2 separate regions of the Homo sapiens genome follow, and region 1 is linked to region 2. The links are contacts of gene promoters, found by promoter capture Hi-C in blood cells and fetal thymus (Javierre and others, 2016). All regions are on one chromosome and are shown on one strand. The core of a region is centred on a gene start or on the middle of the fragment in contact, and the rest is flanking DNA. Distances in the headings are between cores, read along the strand shown. Region 1 overlaps FAF1 (Fas associated factor 1). Region 2 holds the start of DMRTA2 (DMRT like family A2).

Region 1 (4,319 bases), core at 434-2,933, 180 kb before region 2:
ATGTTTTGAGATAAGCAGCTTTCCTGAGAAATGACATTAGTTATCAAAGCCTGGCTCCAAGGCCAGGTTATTTGGATCCAAGTGCCTGACATATAATAACTTAATATTTATTGAATAAGTTATCAACTCTGAGTAACTATATGGTTAGTATAACATTCAACAAATAGTTCTAAATTATCAAATAATATGAGGAAGAAAAGCAGAGTCAAGAGAAATCTGCACATATTCCAGATCTCTCTTTCCCCCTCACCCTTCTTACTGGTTATAGGCAATGTGTTTAATATGTTCTTTTCCCTCTTCTGCCCTCCACCAGAGGGTGCTCATAAGCAACTAAATGGCATAAAGCTGTAGTGATAGGAACTGTGAAAGAAGGGCTATTTTAATTCACAGTGTGGATTATTGGCCTCTGTGAAAAAAAAAAAAAGTTGACTTTGAAACAGAGTTCTTGATTGAGCTGAAATAACTTTGGTTTAAAGTTGCCTTACAAATAACATCTTGAGCACTTACTTACCTGAGGATAGTACTTTTTTATATAGGTAAAGTTGACCATTCTCTCTAAAAAGGTATGAGGGACTATGCCATTAGACAGTGTTAGGCTGGTCTGGGTTGTATTTCTTATTGTGTAACTTAATGCTCTTCAGAAGTATTTTAATGACGTAAAATACTTCAGAACCTCTTCTAGTGTACTCACTAAAATCAATAAGTAATGAAGTACAAGAATATTGATGTCTGTGTTTAGTTATAAAAGCATATCCATTTAGAAATTGTGCTAATTCTGTTACAGTGAGCAGCTCTTTATCTCGCTATGACATAATCTGGTTTTAGGGGATGAAATGCCCTAGAAGATTAAAAAAACAAACAAACAAAAAAACCTTTTATATTGAGCAACCTCTGTTTGATAGCCAAAATCTCAAGATAATGTTGGGACAGTATAAGGAAGCATAAAAGTGGGTAATTATAATGTGGAAAATAGCATCAGGTGATTCTCCTTGATTTTGAGAGTCCCACCAGATTAAATGAAAGAAACCAAAAAAGTAAGTCAGGAGCATTTAAAATTACTATATATATTTCCAAAAGCTTTTAAAAAGAAAATATGAGATAATTAAATCAAGATATTTGTTAGTATTTTACAATTAACTGTAACATCTTTAAAAAACACATAGCTGGCTGGGTGTGGTGGCTCACACCTGTAATCCCAGCACTTTGAGAGGCCAAAAGGGGGAGCCCAGGAGCTCAAGACCAGCCTGGGCAACATGATGAGACTCCATCTCTACAAAAAATAAGGAGACCCTCATTTCTACAAAAAATTAAAGAATTAGCTGGGCATGGCAGCATGCACCTGCAGACTCAGCCACACAGGAGGCTGAGGTGGGAGGATTGCTTGATGCTGGGAGATCGAGGTGGCAGTCGGCCGTGATTGTACCACTGCACTCCAGTCTGGGTAACAAAGCAAGACTGTCTCAAAAAACAAAAAAAGAAGAAAAAGAAAAACCGAGATTAGGAGTCAAGAAGAGAACATGCTTGTGCTATCATTAAGCAGATGTGAGACTTGGGACAAACACTTTACCTCTCTATACCTCAGTTTCTTTTCCTGTTAAGTGAGAGGATTAGACCCTTATCTTGTGAGGAGAAACTGCCTTTCATTTGGAATCTGTTGGGGATGGTGGGATCACTGATAGAAGTTTAAGAGAAGGCTGCTGATACCTTCTCTCTGGAAATTCTTATTACTAGCTTGGAATGGGGCAAGGGAGATGCTGAGTGGTGGAAGATATGGCAGTAGCACTTGACTCAGCTAAGGCTTCAAGATCTCCTGGTTGGGATACAAGCAACTGATGAATTCTGAGGACTCTTCCAAATCTAGTATCTTGTGTGTAAAATGAAGCCATGTATAGCAGCCATCCTTGTTTCTTCCAGCTCCGGTTGCTTACATGGTAGTGTTTGTGTTTATGTACATAGCAAAAAGCCTGAGAACTTGTAACTGTTGGTGTTTATTTCATTAAACTTTACCAACTTGCCAAATCAATTGAGGACTATAACGCAGCAAGGCCAGGCAGAGAACACAGTTTTTTGAGCTATTTACACAGGAGTTTTGTTGATAATTGATCTTGACCTGCACATGTCTTTTAATATTCTGTTGGTTCCAGAATATTATTAGTCACTTCCTTTTTAACAGTGTGCTTTTTTATGAGGTGACTAAACTGCTGTTTAACCCTGCTACAAGAATGTGGCAGTGGGCTAGTCCAGACAAGTGCATGTACACTTGGTAACTAGCATTCTTGATAAGCTTGCTTCAACCTGCCACAAATTAAAGCTCTGTGTGACTTTTCTAGCACATAAGTGACAAAAAAAATGGCTGGGGGAAGGGCAGAAGAAACCTCGGATTGTGAATAAAAATAAGCTTTTTAGAGTTGCGCTTTGGTTGGCAGTAAATGAAATTTTAGCCTCATGACTCAGTTCGGTTTAAAACTACCTCAGTAATCTATTTAGCTGAACAGTAAGCATCTGAAAATTTAAAAGGGGTATTCTAGAAGTCATCTTCAGGACTCCTTACTATAAAAAACCTTATCTACGTTGGAAATGTGATGTAATAGAAAACTCCATGGCTTTTGGAGTTAAATCTGGTTTGCCATCTGGTACCTGATTTATCTTGGACAGGTTACTCCACTACTCTAAGGTTGTTTTATGATTTGTACAATCACGATAGTCTTTAATTTACAGAGTTGTCATGTATGGTAGACATATGTTAAGCACTTACTATGTAGTTTCTGACTAATGGATGGTATCTAGGAGTAGCTGTTTTAATTAAGCCAAAGAAAGTAATTACTGGTTATCAGATAGTAAGACAAGATATCTTAGAGCCTTAATAGTTGTTCGATTGGATACTTTTTAAATGGTTGTGAGATAAAGTGCCTGAGTTTTAATTTTGGTTCACCAGTCAGTACCTGTTTGACTTTGGGCAACCTTCTTATTCTGTGTGAGATTTAGTAACCTCATCTCTAAAGTGGGGATTATAATCCTTACCTGGCAGAGTTATTGTGAGAATTAAGTGGGGTAGTGCGTGTAAAGCACTTTGTGTAATAACAATACATACTGAGCTCTTAATAGTAGCAGTTATTATACAACTGCTTTTTAAAATACGGAATGGTTTCATGGGTGTATGTATATATATGTCAAAAAGCAATACTTTAGGCTGGGTGAGGTGGCTCCTATCTGTAATCCCAGCATTTTGGGAAGCCGAGGCGGGCAGATCACTTGAGGTGAGGAGTTCAAGATCAGCCTGGGCAACATGATGAAACCCCATCTCTACAAAAATACAAAAATTAGCCGGACTTGGTGGCATGCACCTGTAGTCCCAGGTACTCAGGAGGCTGAGGCAGGAGAATCGTTTGAACCTGGGAGACGGAGGTTGCAGTGAGCTGAGATCACACCACTGCACTCCAGCCTGGGTGGCAGAGTGAGACTCTGTCTCAAAAAAAAAAAAAAAAAGCAATACTTTATATGAGGATATAAATGCATATATTAATAGCACTGAATACTGCCTTATTGAAGTATAATTGACCTGTAATAAACCATACATTTTTTAAGTGTACAGTTGGATACATCTTGACATACAAATACACAGATTAAAAAGATCATCAGTGCAGTGTAGTCAGTGCTAATATCCGGTAGCATTCCCAAATCTGGATGAAATTACATCAGTGTCTTGTGAGGACGATGACAAGCTTGAGATATGGTTTTTAAAAAATGTCTCATATTAATTGTTCTTCTTAAAACACAAGAGAATTGTATTTTACAAACTGAGTGAATAAAAGATAAAAACAGTAAAGCTGTAGTTTGAATCTCGTTCACTTGTGTTACTGGGTGTGTCACATGCAGAGCAAGGAGTCTGCAGGTGACATAACCAAATCTCCTTAGTGATGTATGAAGATCATAGCCCATTAGGGCTAGAAGGGATCTGAGAGGCCATTTAGTTGGTCGTACCTATATTTTACAAAAGGAGATGTTAAGACTCTTGGTTACTGACCCAAGGTCCCATAACAGGTTTTATAGCTTCCAATACTCTTAAAATGTCTTATTCTTTGTCATTTATAATTAGAAAAAAAGACAGACTGCAAGCATGTATTTGGGGAGGGTTAAAATTTGGCTATAAAATAAAAAATACTTTGAAGAACTAATTCATATGTATATGAATATATGTATATATGAATATATGTATACATATGAATATATATGTGTATATATGAATATATGTGTGTATATGAATATATATAGTGTGTGTGTGTATATATATATATATGAATATATATGTATTGTTTGAG
Region 2 (4,658 bases), core at 778-3,277:
GAACCTCCAGGTGTTGGAAGGTGGGGTCTGGGTCCTGCGCTCCTAGAGGACATATTATCCCTGAAGCACTCCCTTATCCTCACTTCACGCGGGAGACCCTCGCGGGGGCTGACACCCTTCTCTCTCCTAAACCCATTCACAGACTCCAGCAAGTGGCATTTTCTGGGAGCGAGTAACCAGCTTTTTATCGCTATCATAGACCTTGTCCGTGTCGGAGCGCCCTCGCGCCGGGGCCTGGTGAACTTTCTGGAAGCTCTCCGCCCGGTCCTCCAGCGAATCACCCCCACCCACTCCTCCCTCCAGCCTCAGCCTCCCGGTGGGCATCTTCCAGGGCTCTTCCGGGGCGCCAGGTTCTGCGGTCTTCGGGTGGGGGCCCGTTAGTCGCACCGTCCTTCCCCCACCCCCATTCCTGGGCTCAGAAGCTGATAGACTGACAAGACGCGGCCCAGTAGTCGTGCCAGGCGGAATGGGCTGCGTCCTGAGGCCGCGACGACCCGGGCCGAGTCTGCGCGCCCAGATTCCCGCCGGCCTGGAGGTTCGAAAGAGCAACGCAGAGACGCACGGTCAAGAGTGGAGGGAGAACGACAGGAACGCTCATTTTCCTCATTATTTAAACGAATTTTCTTTATTCTGAAGGAGAGAGAGAAAAGTAGAGAACAAAAACGAGAGTGACAGAACATTAGAAATTAGAGGGAAAAACAGAATTAGAGGGAAAAACAGAACTTTAGAAATTAGAGGGGAAAAGACACAGAGATAAAATCAGAGCTACAGAAACCGAGGGCGACTCGCCCGAGGGCCGCGGCATTAATTCCAGATGTTTGAAAGGCAACAGCCTTTCAAAAAGGAAACAAAATCTGAAACCTGTTACCTCTTCTGCAGAACGAGCTGTTCCTCAGGGCCGTGACATCAAGACAAGACGAGAATAAGGCGAAAGTTAAAACTGAAAACTGTCCGAGGGGGCCTCCCAGCAGTGACTTTGTCTCTTGCCGGGAAGGTCGGACAGACCGATGCGCGTCCTGAGTTTAAGAGAATCTGCGGAGACACAGAGGCCACTTTTTACTTTCGTTTAGAAAAGAAAAAAAAAGGGGGGGGGGCTATTTGTTCATTTGCAATAACGACAAAAAGAATCCCACCACCACGGAAAAGAAATCGAGATGCTGAAAAGTGAGGAAAAGAGAGCTCAAAAGGGGCTGAGGGACGCGAAAAGAGGGGCGGGGAGAGGAAAGGCTCAGGGCGCGAGGGACGTGGCGGGCACCGACAGGAAGTGCAATCTCATTTCTCTTCGCTGAGCTTCTCTTTAAACACGAAAATCTTCATAAACCACACTTACCCTCCAGGATGACTATCGTATCAGGACTTTTAAAATAAAGTAACTGAGCTTTAAGGAGACAGGAGGAAAAAACCAAAGCAGCCCCCAACTACCCCAAACTCGTCGGATTTGGGAGCGCGCCGAAACATAGCAGGAAGAAGGCAGGAAAAATCGTCCTGGCATTTATGCCTTGAACACCCTCCCTTCCCCACCCCCGCACCCTTGTCCCGCCCCTACCCCGACCGCAGTAATTGAATTGTCACCTGCCCCCCATCCCGCCTCAGGGCTCCAGAGCCACTTGGGAAGCTCGGCTTTGCCAAGCGCCCCAGGCCAGTAAGAGCGGTGCAGCCGAGCCGGCGCCCCAGAAGCCGAGAGGTTACACAAGTCTACGCAGAGAGGCGCACCGGACACGGTAATTAGGAGCAATTCACACGCTCTCGGGCGCACGGAAACTACTTGTCAGGAAATTTTCAACGCTCCTCCTCGCCCACTTTTTTCCACTCCTTTCCTGGCGCGCCCCCTCCCCTCCCAGAGGCACGCAGTGGAGCTTTTGGAGTTTCGAATCTTTCGGACACTGCAGAATGCGGGGCTCCCCGGGCGCGGGCCCGGCCAATCAGAGCGCCGTCTGCCTCCCCTGGCCAATGGCAGGCGCCACATTGTTGTCCAATTCTGTCTAATGGAGCCCTAAGGACCAACAATAGAGCGGGCGAGCGGCTCATTGAGAGTCTGGCAGCGCCGGGCAACTGGGCCCCGGCTGCGCGCAGCGTCCGGCGCGCACCGCGAGGGGACCCGGCACGGCGAGAGTCAGGTCGCGGGTTCCAACCACGCGGCCCGCAGACGAGCCTCCGACCCGGATTTCTGAAGGGAGGGTTGGACTGCGCTGCGTTCTGAGGGGTCCGGAAGTTCGGACATGGTGACTGAAGGAGGGTGACGTGGTCAGATAAGGGGCCGGGGGCAAAGGGAAGCGGCCAAGAGCTCCAGCGTCGCCAGTGGAGCCGGGAGGCGCGTGCAGCGCCAGCGGAGGAGGAGGATCCCGGAGCCCAAGGCAGGTAGTTGAGGGCCGCAGGGAGAGCAGTGGGTGGAGACCTGGTCTGCGGCCCCTGTTGAGGAGGCCTGGGCCCCGTGGGCCTTAGGGACGCCCGAAGGGTCTGGGAGAGGAGGCAACGCTCATAGAGAGGAGGTCTGGGACTCTCGGACGGAGACACAAGGACTCTGTCGCGGGCTCTGGCAGGGACGGGGAACGCGGGAAGCAGAGGAGACCGCGGCAGAAGCGGGGAGCTGGGCCTGCTTGGGCCTTATGGGGCTGCGGCGTGGGAGGGACTCTGGTGTCCGTTTATGGCCAGTTGCGAAGGCGACTCCCCTGGCTTGGTGCGGCCTGCTGGGCCATCCGTGTCCTAGGACCCCAACTCTGAGATCAGAACGCAGGAGCCTGCGCTCGAGAGGGGTCCCCTGGGACCCCAAGACGGGGAGGGCGTGTCTGACGACTCTGTCCCTAAACCCGGAGGGGAGGGGAGGGCAGTGTGAGGTGGTCTTCGAGAAAGATCCCCCTCCCGAAATGCCTAACTTTTCGCAGGATACGTCTTCCGCCCCGACTACTACTCCAGACTGCGAAGCTAAAAAACTGCACCACAGGTTTTACCCAATCCCCTCCCCCAGCATTTGCCTGTGGGGTTTTTTCTTACACATTCCCCTCTCCCAGGCGCGGCCCCTGGATCCCGGACACCCAGATCAGCTGCTTTTCACTGTTTTCCTTGCCCATGAAGCTCATCTTTGGGCTGGGTTTGCCTATACAGAAAGTTTCTTTGGCCGAATTTTTCTCTTTAATACTTCCCAGTCCTAAGCTAAATTCCACATACATTTTGTCTCTCACTCTCTGGAGGCCCTCACCGTGGAACTTTTGGCGCTCACATTTTTACGGGTCCCAGAGCCACTGGGCCTAACTTTGCCCAAGTTGTTTCCTCGTCCTCACTCTGCTTCCTAAAGCTATTCTTTCTGTTGTTGATTTTTCTCTCCAAAGCTTCTGCCCCAAACTGCATTAAAAATAAACAAACAAAAAGAAACAAAACTCCGGCCCAACCGGCCTTCACATCTGCGCCTTCACATCTCTCTCCTCTTCACCCTTCCACCAAACTGACCGTTTTGCTCCGGGTTTTCCTGTTTTGCCCTTGGCATCAGCCTAACTTCTGGGCCAAAACTGTCGCTCTAATCCCAGTCCCGTCAAACGAGCATTTCTCTCACCCGTCTCACCCCAATTAGGCTAAGCTTTGGGGTATCATCTTAACTTTTCCAAATTCTCATTACAGCCATCTGAATCAGTGACTTTCACACTTTACATGTCTCTTTATTTTTTCCAGCGGAATCACTAATTCAGACAAAATCTTACCCCTAGCGTGTATATCAGGTCTAAGAGCAGCCATGGCCAGACTGGGGTGAAGGTGCTAGGGCTCACAAGGAGGTTCCGACTGCACCTCCTCCCAGCAATTCTGGCCCCTCTAGCCCAGCCTCCGCGGCCCAAATTTCCCTCTCCAGCTTGGGTTCCTCAAGGCGGCGCTTTGGCCTAGCGCGCGGTGTGCTCCTCACCAGGTCTCTCCCCTCTCCCACCTTCTTTCCCGTCAGGTCCTGTCATGGAGCTGCGCTCGGAGCTGCCCAGCGTGCCCGGCGCGGCGACGGCGGCGGCGGCAACAGCGACGGGGCCGCCTGTGGCGTCGGTGGCGTCGGTGGCGGCAGCCGCGGCGGCCGCTGCATCGCTACCGGTGAGCGTGGCAGGCGGCTTGCTGCGGGGGCCGCCACTGTTGCTGCGGGCAGCCGAGAAGTACCCGCGGACCCCCAAGTGCGCGCGCTGTCGCAACCATGGCGTGGTGTCGGCCCTCAAGGGCCACAAACGCTACTGTCGCTGGAAGGACTGCCTGTGCGCCAAGTGCACGCTCATCGCGGAGCGCCAGCGTGTCATGGCGGCGCAGGTGGCGCTGCGCAGGCAGCAGGCGCAGGAGGAGAACGAGGCGCGCGAGCTGCAGCTGCTCTACGGCACTGCCGAGGGGCTGGCGCTGGCCGCCGCCAACGGCATCATCCCCCCGAGGCCCGCCTACGAGGTCTTCGGTTCAGTGTGCGCCGCCGACGGCGGGGGACCTGGAGCGGGAGCGCCCGCGGGGACCGGAGGCGGAGCAGCTGGCGCAGGGGGCTCAGGTGAGAGCGCGGCCAGGCCGCAGGTAGGGGCAGCAGGATCGTAGCTCTGGGGCACGGGGCCCAGGGGCTTGTCTCGGTTCAGAAAGAGTAGAACCCCCGTGTCCAGTCGCCGCGACTGCTAGGGTTCACCGCTCGCCCAGCCTCGGGTATGGAGCGTGGGTACAGA

What was found. Contacts are between HindIII fragments. The CHiCAGO score rates a contact against its expected background, and 5 or more counts as called.
Region 1: a contact is called between a fragment that was not itself captured here and the fragment with the promoter of DMRTA2 in region 2, in 2 of 17 cell types (endothelial precursors and megakaryocytes). The highest score is 6.7, in endothelial precursors.

The regions. Positions count from the first base shown.
Region 1 is chr1:50,601,671-50,605,989 of GRCh38, reverse strand. The region is part of intron 8 of FAF1 (Fas associated factor 1); the gene reads left to right. Among named protein-coding and RNA genes, the nearest start is that of FAF1-AS1, 160 kb to the right of the region's middle. RefSeq lists an enhancer at 1,445-2,644. The HindIII fragment of the contact is 1,207 bases long and covers 1,080-2,286 here.
Region 2 is chr1:50,420,812-50,425,469 of GRCh38, reverse strand. It overlaps DMRTA2 (DMRT like family A2), which reads left to right and starts at 2,027. Exons shown (of 3, transcript NM_032110.3): 1 at 2,027-2,354; 2 at 3,926-4,492. The coding sequence starts at 3,934. LOC105378714 (a long non-coding RNA gene) reads right to left here and starts at 1,924. Exons shown (of 3, transcript XR_947325.3): 1 at 1,573-1,924; 2 at 869-1,032; 3 at 598-630. RefSeq lists a silencer at 845-904 and an enhancer at 3,732-4,231. The HindIII fragment of the contact is 17,148 bases long and covers 1-3,328 here.